Regions from separate parts of the Homo sapiens genome. Here all the other regions are linked to region 1. The links are contacts of gene promoters, found by promoter capture Hi-C in human tissues and cell types (Jung and others, 2019). All regions are on one chromosome and are shown on one strand. Each heading gives the region's core, a stretch centred on a gene start or on the middle of the fragment in contact. The rest is flanking DNA. Distances are from core to core; before and after follow the strand shown.

Region 1 (3,180 bases), core at 91-2,590:
CAAGTGATCTACCCACCTTGGCGTCCCAAAGTGCTGGGATTACAGGTGTGATCACTGCGCCCGGGCCACCTGCACATGTAAAATTGTGAACTTCTGTATACTTCAGTAACTTTTCCAAGATTTCTTTGACGCAAAGTTCTCAGAAATCTTAAAGCTAGCATTTCAGAATAGAAAAAGTAGCTTCTGGTTCACTAGTGAAATTTTACCAATAGAATTTAAAAACAAAAAGCTACTAACGCATATCAGCTCAGAACACTACCAGCAGATCTTTTCTTTAACTTCCTGAAGCACTGGGATTCATTCTTTTGGCAAAGAAAGGATGAACAACACTGTAACCCAAAGAAAAGATACCACTGCCAGAAAAGACTTCTTTTCGAAAGCAGCTCTAAGCAAAAGATAGGAGGAAAACAAGGAAGCCAGGCCAAACGTCTTGGTTAACTCTCCGCTGAAAGGACGCCACATGAGATGATCTAAGAAGCCAGCCAGCCAGCCAGACGCAGGGAAATCACAGCAACTCTTTGGAGTGCAAACAGCAACCCCACAATCCAATCTACCCGAAATCCTGCGGTTCATTTGAGGCTTGCCCCGCTAGTCAGGAGGTGATTCAGTGATGGCTACAAATGCTGCTCATGTGCATCCTGGAGCTGGCACACCTGGCTTGCCCATCACCAGCCTGGAGACACCGCCAGGAGCAGAAGCCCGGAGGCCAGTAAAGACCCCAACTTTGCAAGTCAGGGGCGCGAGCGCGCTCGCCTCTCAGGTCCGCAGAGGGAACGGATTTCTGGCCTGGAGGGTGGGGTGCGGGGTCAGTGTCCTCTACAGGATATAGGAGGACGTGCCCCCGAAGCTGCTCCGTCCCTCCACCCCCTGGGATGCCACAGAACACCCGCCAGCGAGTTTCTTCCCCAGCGCCCACGAGAGTTGGGCTGCGGGCGGCAGCGGCAGGCGAAGAATCCAGCGCGGGGAACTCAGGCCCCGGCGGTGCACGACCCCCCACAGCCCCCACCCGCCCCCGCGCTCGCGCAACAAAACTTGCCACGGCCGCGCCTCGACCCAGCTGTGCGCCCGCGGGTCCCGGATTCACCGCCCGCCCAGCCTGGCGCGGCGCCCTCACCTCAGAAACGCTGGGTGGACTTCGCGTAACTTCCCATTCACAGGGCAGCCGGCAGCCGCGCCGCCGCGCCTCGGCCCAGCTCCTGGCGCCGCAGATCGCCCGTCCCGCGTTCCCAAAAGCACCGCGCTCGCTCAGAAGCTCGGGCAGCCTCGCGACCCTCACCTACGCCTCCCAGTACCGCCGCTGTCTCAACCGCCACCCAGCCCCTCGCCTGCGCCTGCGCCTGCAGCCCACTGGCTCCTCAGGATCCCGATGGGCGTGTCAGGATAACCCAAGGCGCAGGCGCGGCGGGGCCTTAAAGGGACCCGGCGGCCTCTTCTGCACAACGGGTTCGAGCAGGTTAGGGGCCGCGCAGGCGGAGGAAAGGAGTAACCCAGGGGAAGGACCGAGTGCAGCGGGGACGGGGAAATCCCTCTCTCCCCTCCGCCTGTCTTTCAAAGCACCAGCCCTCGACCCTCCAAATCGCTGGTTTCCCCGGCCACTTGAACAGCCCCTGCCAGGTTGAAGAGGCAGGAGACACACCCCCTCTGGGGCTGGAGCGACCCCGCGCTTAGGACTGCAGGCCTCGCGCTGCCGCACCGCCCCGAATCTGACTTCCAGGCACGGGCACGCGGTGCAGTCGGGCAGGCTTCAGAAGAGCCCCCAGCTCTCCCAGAGGTGGCCTTAGGTCACTCTCAAAAAGAATAACCAATGTGTCAATGGCACTTGTAGTTATTTTCTAATTTAAATTTATTAACAGATTTTGCAGATGGGCTTCCACTGAAATAAGCCTTTGAGAAAAAGAAAAACTTTTTTTTTCAACAGGATTAGAATACCAAGAAATAGGAAGTAAAGCCATGCCGTCCACCCAGCTAAAAACTTTGAAAACTTGATATTTTATCTAAGGCAAATGTTTGCATAACTTTAGGTCATGCCATTATTTAAAGTCAATTTCAGTTAACAATTTCATTGCAACTGAATCTATCTTGTATAAGAAAACTAAGATACATCCCTGATAATCTACCTCTCCCCTCCTATACTCCATCCGTCAGCAAATCCTACTGGTTTTTACCTTCCAAATTTTCCTTGAATCTGTCCTCTTCTATCTCCTCCGTCACCACCCTAGTCTAGGCTGCCTTCACCTGGGGAGTGAGGGTCGAGGGACTACTGACCTAGTCTTCTTGTGGTTTACCCATATCCCCTTTATCGCCTCTCTAATCTCAACACAACAGGCAGAGTGGCTTTTCCAAAATATAATGTGACCGTGTCACTTCCCAGCCTAAAGCACTTAAACACCTTCCCATTCTCTTAGACAAAACCTCCTAACTAACCAAGCCCCGAATGGCCAGGCGCCTTGCCCACTTCTTCATCTCTTCTCACTACTCAGACCAATTCTGTTCTGCTCTCTCTGCTCCAGCCAAACTGGCCTCTTTTATTCCCTATTTACCAGCTTCCTGGCCTCCACAGAGCTTTTGCTCATGCTTTGCTCTGTGCCTGGAAAGTTCTTCTAACCCCTATTCTTCTGAGAACAGCTGTAGTCTCCACCTCTGAAAAGCACCTTCTGACCTCCCTATGGTGGTCCCTTACTCCTATCACATTGCATGAAACTGTAATCGGGTGGTTATTTTGGTGAATTTTTTACTATCGGCTACGTAAGCCCAGGGTTTGGTTTTGTTTGCTTCATGATTTGTATTTCCACATTTGTTAAATACATATTTGTTCATAAATGAGAATGATGGATGCTAGAAGTTGAAGTAAATTTGGCATAAAGTCAGAGAAAGAGAAAATGTCACAATCTGACAGTTGGAGTCAGAATGTAGAAACTTCAGTTATATTAAAACTGATTTTATATCGTTTTAGGCTGAGTTGTCTTAGGATGCTTTGGGTAACCTTTAAAACTGAGTTCTCAAAGAGCCTTGTATAAACACCTGAATTAATAATGATAAGCCATGGGGTGGCCCACATAAAACTAATAACATTGGTTGCTTTAAGAGAGGAAGACTGAGCCAGGCACAGTGGCTCATACCTGTAATCCAAGCACTTTGGGAGGCCAAGGCCCGCAGATCATTTGAGCTCAGGAGTTTGAG
Region 2 (3,101 bases), core at 116-2,615, 130 kb before region 1:
GGGGTCCTTTGAGGCCTCCAGAGCCCACCTACTCTCTTCTGGTTCCAGGGATACACACTAGCCTACGCTAGGCGGGGTCCAGGGCCTGGACCTGGCCTGGGGCAGGATAGGGGCCTAGGCCTGAGAGCCAGGCTCCCGCTCCCCTCCTATGTGCCCTCACCACCCTCTGAGCCCTCACCTCCCTGGGGTCCCGGACAACTCCTATCAAAGCCCCCCGGATGCCAGACAAACCCCCAGGCACACTCGTCTCCTGGGTTCTGACCCCACCCCCAGGGCTCCCAGGCTCCTCCTCCTTGCATCCTGGTTCCACTCTCAGACTCCTCCCTACCCTGGCTCTGCCCCTAGTTCCCAAGCTCTGATTCCCCTTGCTAGACCTTTTCCCAGGGTCCTGGCTCTGTAGACCAGGGACCTGTCTCCCTCTCTACCAGGACCCTAACACTGCCGCAGCCTCCTCCCTCCACCTGCCCAAGCGCCCACCCCCAGCTGCCCAAGCACCCCTACTTCTGGGCTGGCTTCACCGCAGAGCTCTCGGCCACCTCCTTCGGGATCCTGACACCCTCAGACACTTTCTCAGAGCTCTGGCTGCACCCCAAGGCGCTCGGACTCCTCCCCCGGACCCTGGCCCCGGACCTGCCCCCGCCCCGCCCCTACCCGGAGGGCGCCAGACGCTCCCTCCAGGCCTCTGGCTGAGCCCAGAACGCTCAAGCCCCTTCCTACCTGGACCTGCAGCTCGTGCTTGTGTAAGGTGGAGTGGATCAGGGCGAGCGTGGAGGAGTCTGAGCAGGCCGGGGAGGGGCCTCGGCGGGGTGAACGGCCTCGGCCGGGCGAGGAGCGCCGCGGTGGGGACGGGGTCTGCTGGGCCGAGAGCCCCCGCAGGCTGCCGAAGGAGTCATCCGCGGTGCGCTCGGAGCCGCTCAGCTGGACGCCGCTCTGTGTCCGACAGGACGGACTGAGGGTAGGGGAGGCAGGCAGAAGAAGGCCTCAGAGTTAGGAACCGCAGTGTTAGCTGGCAAAGACGCCCAGGTGAGGCTGGGGGCCGCCTCATCCCAAATGCTCCCTCTTACAAGAATCCTTCCTGATTTCACCTCCTCCGCTAGCTCAGTCCTCAGCTCACAGGTGGCCTCCAAAAGGGCCGTGCCTCCCCTCTGAGACTGGGGGCTCCCCAGGGCCGGGGGTGCTGAGCAGCTACAGCCTGGGTCCCAGGCCCCCACCCATTTGCAGTTCAGTCCCAGGCCACCAAAAGTCGTGGCGGGGGAGCCCAGGACTGCCTGGCAGTGCCCTGTCTTCCCACCTCTTTGGGCTCACACCTGTGCCAGGTCCCTTAGGCTCTGCTGTAGCCCCTCTCCGTCCTCTGTCTCCAGGGCCACCTGCTCCTGTAGCCGCAGGGATTCCTGGAGTGTAGTTAGGGAGACAAAGGGTGGTCCTGGTTCTGTCTTATCTGAAACCTCCCATTCCCCTCCCTTCCTGGTCCACCACTGACCAGGTGGCCTCTGAAGCTATGTCCATAGGCCAGACATCTGGTAGACCCCACAGCAGGCCCGAGGCCCTCAATGAACAGACCAGGCGCAGAGAACAGCTGTGTCCTGCCCCAGGTCACACAGTCGATTGGAGGAGAGCCGGACCTAGAACCCAGGCCAGGCCCCACACAGAGGGGTGACCAAACCAGGCTGTACCCTGGGGGAGTGAGTGTCCCACTAGTGGGGATGGGCAGCTGGGATTCCAGAGGCAGCATCTGGACCTGGAGAGCACGGATGGGAGTTCAAGTCCCGACTCTCCAGCTTACTGGCTCTGAGACTGGACAAGCATTTCCCCTCTTGGGCCTCAGTTTCCCCATCTGTGTCATGAGGATTATGCTACAGGGCTGCTGGGAGGAAGAAATGGGATGGAGGAGGTGAATGTTCTTACCACAAAGCCTGCACACCTGTGAGGGCTGAACCTGAGTGTGAGTGGGATGCTGGGGGTGGTCCAGGCAGCCCAGCCCTAAGCCTGCGTCCATGGATCTGGCCGGTACCCCATCCCACCCTGCCCCATCTCAGGGGCAGCTGCAGCTCACCAGGGCCTCAAGCTTCTCAGTGAGGTCCGTGTTGACCTGATCCTTCTCCGGATTCTGCTTCTGAAGACGCTTCACTGCCAGGCCCAGCTCTGTCACTCTGGAGTTGGGGGAGCAACAGAGGTGAATACGGGACCACCCCAGCCTCTCAAATCCACTAGCTCTGTGTCCACCATGCTTCTCCAAACCCGAGGGAGGGACCCTAACATCCACCTCCCTGGCTGTGTGACCTTAAACAAGTTGTGGCTCCTCTCCAGACCTCACACTTCTCATCTGTGAAATGGGAATGAGGTTCCCACCAGCTTTATCTCATGGGAAAACACTGGAGGACTTGTCCAGGTAGCAGGAGTAAGGGGCACAAGTTGTTTTTTTGTGGTTTTCTTTTGAGACAGAGTTTCGCTGTGTCATCCAGGCCGGAATACAGCGATGTGATCTTGGCTCACTGCAACCTCCACATCCTGGGTTCAAGCGATTCTCCTGTCTCAGCCTCCCTCGTAGCTGGGATTAGAGGCACACACCACCACACCCGGCTAAGTTTTGTATTTTTAGTAGAGACAGGGTTTCGCCTGTTAGGCAGGCTGGTCTTGAGCTCCTGACCTCAGGTAATGCCCCACCTTGGCCTCCCAAAGTGCTGGGATTACAGGTGTGATCCCGGCCACAAGTTCTGTCATAAGAGGCTAAGCTGTTTATGATATACACTGGGCAAGTGCCTCAGAAACTCAGTTGGGTGCCTGGGAAGACTGGCTGAGCTCACAGAGGAAGGCCCTGCTCCTAGTGAACAGATGCTCCCTTCTCCCCAACTCTCCAGTTTTACCTTCTGCAAGGACGCCTGCCCCATGTGGCACCCACCAGGGACCCACCTGGCACTGAGGTCAGCCTTGTCCAGGTCACTTTGCATCTGCTGCTGGGCCAGGTCCTTCTAGTGGAGCACCTTGTCCCGCAGCTGCTCCTCCAGCTGGGCCTGCAGCAGGGCCTGCTTCTCCAGGGCTGCCTTGGCCCGGCTCTCTGCCAGCCACAGGCCCGTGCTCAGTCCCAGGCCCGCCTCCTGGAC
Region 3 (3,373 bases), core at 772-3,271, 240 kb after region 1:
GATCCTGGGGTCAGACTTGTTGCTTCAAATCCCAATTTGTAAACTTTCCTATGCTCCAGTTTCTTCAAATGTTAAAATAGTAATAAAGGAACTACCTACCCCATCAGGTACTAATGTCAATTAAATGAGTAAATTCTTATAAAATGCTTTAGAACAGTGTCTGGCATCGGGTAAAATGCTGTGGATTAGTTCTCATTCTGACTACCACTGCCCCAATACACTGATGTTAACATGCTGATATATTTATTCAAACTCTTATTTTCCTTTGCCTATTTTTCACACAGTTATAACCCAATAAACTTTTAAATTATAGTAAACTTTAGAGAGCATTAAACTTGCAGCATGCAGAAATAGCTTGTCCTACATTCTTGTGGCTATCCTAACTAGATAAGGCCATGTTAATAATGTCTTGAGAAACATCAGTGTGTGTGGAATGAACACAGGATGTTGGAGGATTTGAATTCAGGCTCTGCCACGTGCTAGTTTGAGTGATCTAGAACAAGCTGGTTTACCACCTCTCTTTAAGTTTTGGTTTCCCCAGTCAGTAAAATAGAGAGTGGTGAAACCTAACTTGTGGGTATAAGGAGGATAAGAAATACTGTATTTGAATGCCTAGTACAGTGTCAGGGTTGAATAAAGTACGACTTCACCTTTTTCCCTAGTAATTATTATCCTCATGACCAAACCTGCCTCCTCTCAAAGGCAGTGGCCACAACAGCACATCCAACTTTTATTCAGGAAGACATCTTTGTCTTTTTTCAGAGCATGAGGAGCACAGCAGCCGCAAGGAAATGGTCCTGGTGGAGGGGCTGTGCTCTGAGCAGGGGCGCCGGGGCTGAACGCTGGCTAGTTCCTCTGAGAGGAAGCCCTTGGAGAATGAACTAGGGAAGCAGGAAGAGTTCTGGGTATATGGAAAGTCAGAAAACATCTGGGTCCTATGAAAGGACATCAAAGATCTGAAGGCCCAGCTGCAGAATGCCAACAAGGTCATTCAAAACTTCAAGAGCCAGGTCCAGTCCCTCTCAGTTACAAGTGATTATTCATCTAGTCTGGAAAGACCCTGGAAGCTGAGAGCTCCTGACACCCTGGAGGGGTCTTCACCTCATAGTGTCACTGATGAGGATGAGGTGTGGCTGTCTGATGGCACTGGGGCTTTCTACTCTCCAGGACTTCAGGCCAAAAAGGACCTGAAGAGTCTCATCCAGAGAGTATCCCAGCTGGAGGCCCAGCTCCCAAAAAATTGACTAGAAGGGAAGCTGGCTGAGGAGCTGAGATCAGCCTCATGGCCTGGGTAAGGATGGCACTGTCTGGGCACTTTCTGGATTGAAAATGTGTAAGTTTGTGCTTGGTGTAGGGTAGCTCAGGCAGTTGGAAGAAACAACATGTCTGGGTATTCACAAGGACACTGATTTAAATGGTAGATATAGGTCTGTGGAAAAGACAGGTAGGCAAGCAGGAGGGCATAGGATGATGTCCCAGTATCTGGGAGATACCAGATCTCAGGGATTTCCTCTTAGGGATATATCAGTAAAGTAATAGTACATATGGTATAGTATAGTATAGTATAGTATAGTATAGTATAGTATAGTATAGCATAGTATAGTGGTAATACTGGAATCAGACTGCCTAGCTCTGATGCTTACTACCCATGCAACCTTCTTAACCTTTCTGAGCCTTTGTCATTACCTATTAAATGAGGATGATAACAGAACCCATCTCAAAGGGTGGATATTAGGTTTAAATGAATTAATACAAGTGCTGGCCAGGTGTGGTGGCTCATGCCTGTAATCCCAACATTTTGGGAGGCTGAGGTGGGCAGAACACCCGAGGTCAGGAGTTCGAGACCAGGCTACCCAACATGGTGAAACCCTGTCTCTACTAAAAATATAAAAATTAGGTGGGCATGGTGGTGCACCCCTGTAATCCCAGCTACTCAGGAGGCTGAGGCAGGAGAATCGCTTGAACCTGGGAAGTGGAGGATGCAGTGAGCCGAGATGGTACCACTGCACCCCAGCCTGGGTGACAGAGCAAGACTCTGTCTCAAAAAAAAAAAAAAATTAGTACAAGTGCTTAGAATGGTGCCCAGCATACATTAAGCTCTCAATGCTATTTGCCATAGTTATCAGTGTTATTGACACTTTGTGTTGAAAACACAGACATTCATCTTGGTATGCGTCCTGGTTATCTACTGCTAAGTAAGAACCACTCTAAAACTTAGTGACTTCAAACAGTACTTTATTATGCTTCATGGTTCTGTGGTTTGACTGGGCTCAGCTGGGTGGCTCTCACTTAGGGTCTCTTGTTTTGGGTCTCATCAGTTGATGGCATGAGAGTTTATGTGATGGCCATGATTGCAAAATACAGTCAGCCACAGTATCACAACACAGAAGAAATTCAGACATCAGGTGGTGGTTAAAACAGAAGACATGAAAGGTCCTATCTAGACTTAGGATGAGATGAGTCTAATTATTCATTGAGTATCTGCTGTGAATCTCTGTGATGCTGGTGCTGTAAGGGATGTGAAACGCAGAACTATCTTCATTCTCACAGACCTTACGATTTATCTAGGGACATATAATTAACATATATAGAACAGTTGAAGAACAGTGGCATGGTAAATTTTTTGTTTTGTTTTGTTTTGATACAGAGTCTCACTCTGTCACCCAGGCTGGAGTGCAGTGGTGCCATCTCGGCTCACTGCAACCTCTCCCTCCCAGGTTCAAGCAATTCTCCTCCCTCAGCCTCCCAAGTAGCTGGGATTACAGGCATGTGCCACCATGCCCAGCTAGTTTTTTTGTGTGTTTTTAGTAGAGGAGGGGGTTTCACCATATTGGCCAGGCTGGTCTCGAACTTCTGACCTTGTGATCTGCCTGCCTCAGCCTCCCAAAGTGCTGGGATTACAGGCGTCAGTCACCACGCCCGGCCCATACTAAATTTTTAGTGCAATAATTTATCAGGGTAGAATTTACTCTTAAATACCTCCTATGGCTTACGTGCCAGAATTCAGTTTGGGGGAGTTCCTTAGAGATGTTCTCATAGAAATCTCTACAGAAGCCCCATAACTTATCATCCACCCTTTCCTCTTCTGTCCTGCATTAGGAAATATGATTCCCTGATTCAGGATCAGCCCCGGGAACTGTCTTACCTACGGCAAAAAATACGAGAAGGGAGAGGTGTTTGTTATCTTCTCACCCAGCATGCAAAAGATACAGTAAAATCTTTTGAGGATCTCTTAAGGAGCAATGACATTGACTACTACCTGGGACAGAGCTTCCGGGAGCAACTGGCCCGGGGAAGCCAGCTGACAGAGAGGCTCACCAGCACACTCAGCACCAGTAGGTTGGCCACAGGGCTTTGGATACTCTCAGTCACC
Region 4 (3,334 bases), core at 522-3,021, 150 kb after region 1:
TATACGTGAACTGTAAGGCCTCCCTCTGGCCTCCTCTCTTCCTCCTTCCTCACCAGGTTTGCCTGGCTGACCCTTCCAGCCAGTGAATTCCTTTCCCAGGTTGAGTGTTTTCCATTTTAATTTTTGTGGCATTTCCCTGGATTAATGGTTAACGCATTCATTTTCTCCCCTCCAGCCTCCATTATCAAAGAGTGCTTTGAATAACCATTAACTCTCTGGTTAAGCGAAAGAAACACGTTAATCATCTACAAGTCCTGGGGCAGGAAAATTATTCTTGGTAACCTTCTCCCAATGGCAAGAAAACCACTGTCCCTGAGCAGCTCAACTTCAGCCACACCTGGGTCTACAAGCTTGCAAAACCCCTCCGGTAACCTTGTTACAAGGACTTGGTAAACTGAGGTCATAAACTGCTGAATGGCTAAGCGCTGTGCTTTTCAACCCAGCCACCACCGGTTCTCTAGGACCCTATAAAGAGACAAGGCTGGGCTGCTGCTTCTCCCTTTACTTTTAAAAATTGTTTTGCCAGTAAAGTCTCATCTATTGTACATTCCTTGTTACGGGGAAACTCAAGTGGCTGTACAGGCTGTTCTTGGAGCCACAGTTAAAAGCGCTTTGACTCAAACACACATGTGGCGTCATCCTGAGCTCCGTTTGCGTGGGGCCGGAACACCGGACTAGGAAACCTCTCCCTGCTTTAGCAACTGAGTGTGGCTAGATTGAGGGACCACAGGGGGTGGCTCTGGATGCAGCAATCCAAGTCCCCTTTTCAGGGAGGGTGACCTCTTTCCGAAGTTCAGTGGATGGCCCCCTTCCAGGGTTAGGGAGACAGGAGGAGGAGGAAGAAGAAAAGGAGGAGGAAAGCTCTCAACAGCCCCCCACCCCCAACCCATCCAGGAGAGAAGGACTGCAGTCCCCGAGACCAGCTGGAGGAGTGGCGTGTGCATGGTGTGCCCTCAGGGTAGAGCGCGCCATCTTGGAGAGATGCCTCTTTCATTCACAAAGCGGATCTGTTGCAGAGCCCAGAGCCCCGGGGAGAGCAGGGCGGCGTCCAAGTGCTTGCTGGGTTTGGCTTGCACTCCCTCTCCCTTAAAGAAGACAGAGGCGGAAGGGAGAGGCTGTTCTTCGGAGGCGAGCCTCAGGCACTGCTAGACTTAGTAGGAAAGATATTGCTGGGGTCTTGGCAAGCCGTAGGTGCAGCGCTCCCCATCGTCATTCCGGTGCGGCTGGTTACTGTCACCCTGCCTCCTCCCCGCCGGCCTGAGAGCCTCTCTGTTCCAGATCCAAACATTTCCACATTAGGCAGCCTGCATGTGCATTTCCCTGGCAGTGGAGGGAAAGGCACCCCTGTGACCTGGGATGACCGACGACGGGGACTTGCCCTCCTCCCCCACAGGTGCACTTGCTCTTTTCTGGGCCAGCCTTGTGATCTGGTGTCCGGGCACTTGGCAGCATTTAGCAAATGTTCCTCAGTGCTCTGTTTGGTAGTTAATGCTGTTGACACGGACACCTTTGGGAGCACGTGGGAGAAGCTGCTGCCTCCGTTTCCCCCGGGTTACAGCGCCTGGCGCAGTCTGTTGTCCCCTCAGAAGTGGTGGGCGACATTATCTCCTTTTTCATCCCTAGCCCTCTCCCTTGAAGCTGTCCTGATCTCTCTTTTGGACCCAGGAACGTGAGCAGAGGTTACTACTCACTATATATACACACTGCATCTAGACTCATGCATGCCTTCTTGGTGTCAAGGACACCTCACATTTCAAAGACTTCATGAAAAAGAACGTGAGGTATCTCACACGGTGACATGATAAAGCTTTGGACAACGTGGGTTAAGCTAAAAACAGGTCATTACAATTAATTGTATCTCTGTCTTTTGACCCTTCAGTGGCTCCTGAAATCCATCACACATGTGGCTTGCAAGTATTTTGGTCGGACAACGCTGCCGTAGATTGTCCCACTCTGAAATGGTTCCCTCTGGGCTTACGGGACTGCTATAGAAGGGTCCTAAGGTCCTGTGCCTCCCTGCTTTTCAAGTGGCTGCAAACTTCTGTGCCTACCGCTTCCTCCACTGGATGTTTCCTTCCTGCCCTCCTCCCTGAGGACCTCCTAGTCCCTCTTCAGGATGCAGAGCTGGAGCCTCCACTCCAGGAAAGCCACTCATGTTGTTGCCAACACAACCCCCTGCACACATGCAGTATTAGGCATTGGTCTGCCTGGCTGTCCCTGGGCTGTGCTGTCCTTGAGGGCAGTTTTTGTGTCTAATTCCCAGAGAGTGCAAGAACACAAGCATGCTCATCCAGACGTTAGTAAGCTGCCCTAAGGGGTGGAGCAGTCAGATTCCGGTTTTATTTATTTTTCCCCTGCAAGGAGCAATCAATTATTAACCGAAGTCACGATACTTTGGTTGCTGTTATCAGCACATGAAAATATCAGTCAAGGCTGGGTTTCAGACCCGCCTGGCACTATTCAAAGGAAATTTTTTAGTAATTCTTATTTTATTAAGAGCACTAGTATATTCAGATCAAGTAAAACTTCACATATAACAGGTTCACTCTTCTATATGAAATGTTTGTGGGAAATCTATCATGCATCAGGTGCTCTCAAAAGGTGGTGAGGTGTAAATGTCAGCCTCAAAGGCTGCAGTGTCCAACATGGCACACAGCTTGTGTGGCTCTTAGCACCTGAAGCATGCCTCGTCCACAGTGAGATGTGCCGAAAATGTAATATACATCCAGATTTTGAAGACTTGGTAAAATATCTCACCAGCAATTTTTTATATTGATTACATGAGGAAGTGATAATGTTTTGGGTTGGTTAAGTTAAACGTATTATTAAAATTCATCTCACCTGTTTCTTTTTAAAAGTGGCTTCTAGAGAATTTTAAATAACATGTAGTTCACATTATATTTCTATGAGACAGTGCTGCTCTAAGGCGATTATGCTTTGTTTGTTTTGAGACACTCACAGGTGTATGTGAGCATTTCAACCGGGTTTATAACAGCTTAGGAAACTGGGAACTTTGACTTGGAACTTTCCCGCCAAGTGACAAAACATCCGTCCAGTGATAGAAGTTTTAATTCTACTTCCTCCAGCTAGATCTTGCCTGGAGGACCCACGTTGACTTACTCTCTCCAGAAACGGCCCCACTGGCTCTCTGGGGGAACTCCTGGGTTCTGCAGGGACTTGCTAGGTAGTAATTACAGGTGTGTAGAGACCCTCCTGCTTCATACGCTCAGTCATCATTATTTACTTTTACCAGGCACCAGGGGCGTGATGAGAGCTTAGCTGAAAGGAGAGAAGACTCAGCAAGCACATCACCTTGAAGCTGACCTGTCAGCCA
Region 5 (3,130 bases), core at 363-2,862, 150 kb before region 1:
AGACTGTCTCAAAAGGAAAAAAAAAAAAAGTATGTACCATTGAAGATCAGCACTTGGATTGTGGAGACAGACCTGGCCTTAGGATCTAGGCTATCCCCTGGTTAGACGTGTGGCCACAGGCTGTTCCTTCACCTGAGCGTCACTCGGATGAGGCACTAGCAGATGCACATTGCATTGTTTGACCTTAATGACCTTTCTCTGGAGTCAGGTAAGTACCCAGAACAGTTCATCATGGTAGGGAGGAGGAGGTGGCACAGCTGATGACACAGCCCTCAGGAATCTAGCCTGAAAAGCACCTTGTGGGGTCTGGGGCCAGGAGCAAGGGACAGCTTGATGCTGTCCATCACTAACTGGAATCCCAGCTGGAAAAAACTCATTACAGGACCAGAATCTCCAGGAAAACTCAATCCCAAACCAGGCATCACTTCAATTACACCCCTGACTGGAGTTTACAAACTGGTGGGTGGATGGTAGAAGATGGCTGCTTTCTTGGGGGGTATGCTAGACCTCACTTGCCCTCTGCACAACAGAATTTGGATGCACTGGGAGGTGTGGCAGATAGACTCCCAGGTGGTCACTGTGATCCCCACCTGCTGTTCACAGCCTTATGTACTCCCTGCCCCTTGAGATGGCCTAGACCTGTGACTGCTAACCAGTAGAGTGCCACAAAGGTGACAAGATGTTATTTTCATGGTTGCCTTATGTAAGACTGCAACATCTGCCTTGCTGAGAAATTCTCTTGCTGGCTTTGAAGAAGGAAGCTGTCATGTTGTGTGAGCTGCCCTTGGGAGAGGGTCAGGTGGCTAGGAACTGAGGTAGCCTCTGACAGCCAACAAGAAACTGAAGCTCAGTCCAGCAGTCTGCAAGAAAGCAAATGCTGCCAGCAACCACACAAGCTTGGAGGCTGATCACTCCCAGGTAAGCCTTCAGGTGAGACCCCAGGCCTGACCAACACTGACTGCAGCCTTGCAGAGGACCAGCTAAGCTGTGCCCAGACTGTCCCATAGGAACAGATGGTAAATGTATTGTGTTAAGTCGCTAAGTTTCTGGTAAGGTTATGCAGCAATAGATAACCAACACAAAGGTTAGCAAAGTGTGTTTGAGGTGGGAATCAGTGTGGAAAAGAGAGAATCTGGATAGACTTAATAGCTGTAGGGCCTTGGGAGGTCCCTTATGATGCTCCTTTGGGCCTTCCTGTTGCCTTTAAGTAATGCTTATTGTTTATTGCTAAAGTAATGCTTAACTCTCTGCTAGGCACTATTCTATGCACTTATAAAACTCATTGCATCATCTCTACAACCCCATGAGGTAAGGACTTGTTTTTTTTGTGTTTTGAGACAGTCTCGCTCTGTGGCCCAGGCTGGAATGCAGTGGCATGATCTCAGCTCACTGCAACCTCTGCCTCCTGCGTTCAAGCAGTTCTTCTGCCTCAGCCTCCGAGTAGTTGTGATTACAGACGTGTGCCAGTACTTCCGGCTAATTTTTTTGATTTTTAGTAGAGACGGGGTTTCATCATGTTGGCCAGGCTGGTCTCAAATTCCTGACCTCAAGTGATCAGCCTGCCTTGGCCTCCTAAAATGCTGGGATTACAAGTGTGAGCCACCGCACCTGGCCAGTAAGTACTTGTTTTAGTCTATTTGGGACTATGACAGAATAACATAGCCTGGGTAGTTTATAAACAAAAGAAATTTTTTGCTCACAGTTCTGGAGGCTGGGAAGTCCAAGGCACCAGCAGATTCGGTGTCTGGTGAGGCCGTCTTTTTGCTGTAACCTCACATGGTAGAAGGGGCAATAGAGTACTCTGGGGACTTTTTTTTTTTTTTTTTTTTTTTTTTAAGAGATGGAGTCTTGCTATATTGACCAGGCTGATCTCAAACTCCTGGCCTCAAGTGATCCTCCTGCTTTGGCCGCCCAAAGTGCTGGGCTTAAAGGCATGAGCCACCACATGGGAATGGCACTGCCTTTTTTTTTTTTAAAGATAGTTTTGCTCTTATTGCCCAGGCTGGAGTGTGATCTTGGCTCACTATAACCTCTGCCTGTTGGGTTCAAGCAATTCTCCTGCCTTAGCCTCCCAAGTAGCTGGGACTACAGGCACATGCCACCACGCCCAGCTAATTTTTGTATTTTTAGTCAAGATGGTGTTTTGCCTTATTGGCCAGGCTGGTCTCAAACTCCTGACCTCATGATCCACCTGCCTCAGCCTCCCAAAGTGCTGGGATTATAGGCGTGAGCCACCACACCTGGCTGGGGCTTCCTTATAAGGGCAATACTGTTTGTGAGGGCTCTACGCTTATGACATAATTACCTTCCAAAGAACTCACCTCCAAATACCATCATACTAGGGGTTAGGTTTCAGTATGAATTTGGAGGTGGGGGTGGACACAAATGTTTATAGCAGTACTCATCCCTGTTTCGAAAATGAGAAATGCAGAGAAATTATATAATTTGTTCAAAGTCACATGGTTGGTAAGTGGCAGAGCTGGGATTTGAACCCAGGCAGTCTGGCTCCAGCATCCATGCTTTTAGTCAGGGTGGCTACTTCTTTGGAGCAGTGCTCCCTGCAAAGCCTGGCACATAAGACCCCCTTAATATATGAAAAGTCCCATTCCCTCCACATGGCTTACGAAAGCCGTGGCAAGTAGGAATGACAGGCGAAGGGTGGGGCTTTATTCCATTGGTGATTGAAAGCTACTGAAATGCATCATGGGCACACAGTAGGTGCTTAATAGTTGTCGATTTCTATGAGCTGGGAGTGAGAAAGATACCATGCTCTGTGGACTGAGTGGACTGGAGTAGGGAAAAGACCAATTTTTCCTCACCGCAGCTTGAATGTAGACAGATACTGTTTTTTTTTTTTTTTCTTTTTTTTTTTTTTTTTTTTTTAGCCAACCATACAAAGCCTGTAAGTAGGTACTTTATTTATTTGTATTTTTATTTTTTTTTGAGACAGATTTTCACTCTTGTTGCCCAGGCTAGAGTGCAATGGTGCAATCTTAGCTCACTGCAACCTCCACCTCCCAGGTTTAAGCGATTCTCCTGCCTCAGCCTCCCAAGTAGCTGGGATTACAGGCTTCCGCCACCATGCCTGGCTAATTTTTGTATTTTTAGTAGAGACAAGGTTTCATCCTGT

Evidence for each region. The method cuts DNA at HindIII sites, captures the fragments that hold promoters and counts their contacts. A contact is called where the count stands out against the background at its distance.
Region 2: a fragment that was not itself captured here is called in contact with the fragment with the promoter of NBPF1 in region 1 in 2 of the 25 tissues and cell types used here (H1 embryonic stem cells and stomach).
Region 3: a contact is called between a fragment that was not itself captured here and the fragment with the promoter of NBPF1 in region 1, in 2 of the 25 tissues and cell types used here (neural progenitor cells and pancreas).
Region 4: a fragment that was not itself captured here is called in contact with the fragment with the promoter of NBPF1 in region 1 in 2 of the 25 tissues and cell types used here (pancreas and psoas muscle).
Region 5: a fragment that was not itself captured here is called in contact with the fragment with the promoter of NBPF1 in region 1 in 1 of the 25 tissues and cell types used here (pancreas).

Annotation. Positions count from the first base shown.
Region 1 is chr1:16,612,224-16,615,403 of GRCh38, forward strand. It overlaps NBPF1 (NBPF member 1), which reads right to left and starts at 1,341. Exons shown (of 18, transcript NM_001405701.2): 1 at 1,115-1,341. RefSeq lists an enhancer at 1,185-2,142. The HindIII fragment of the contact is 9,860 bases long and covers 1-3,180 here.
Region 2 is chr1:16,483,516-16,486,616 of GRCh38, forward strand. It overlaps the pseudogene CROCCP3. Among named protein-coding and RNA genes, the nearest start is that of LINC01772, 24 kb to the left of the region's middle. The HindIII fragment of the contact is 7,677 bases long and covers 1-3,101 here.
Region 3 is chr1:16,855,950-16,859,322 of GRCh38, forward strand. MIR3675 (microRNA 3675) reads right to left here and starts at 3,072; the gene lies at 3,000-3,072. It also overlaps the pseudogene PDE4DIPP9. The HindIII fragment of the contact is 7,627 bases long and covers 1-3,373 here.
Region 4 is chr1:16,764,818-16,768,151 of GRCh38, forward strand. No RefSeq gene overlaps it. Among named protein-coding and RNA genes, the nearest start is that of RNU1-4, 26 kb to the left of the region's middle. RefSeq lists an enhancer at 622-1,122. The HindIII fragment of the contact is 4,732 bases long and covers 1-3,334 here.
Region 5 is chr1:16,461,673-16,464,802 of GRCh38, forward strand. LINC01772 (long intergenic non-protein coding RNA 1772) reads left to right here. Exons shown (of 2, transcript NR_147210.1): 1 at 1-1,615. Among named protein-coding and RNA genes, the nearest start is that of LINC01772, 2.3 kb to the left of the region's middle. The HindIII fragment of the contact is 3,814 bases long and covers 1-3,130 here.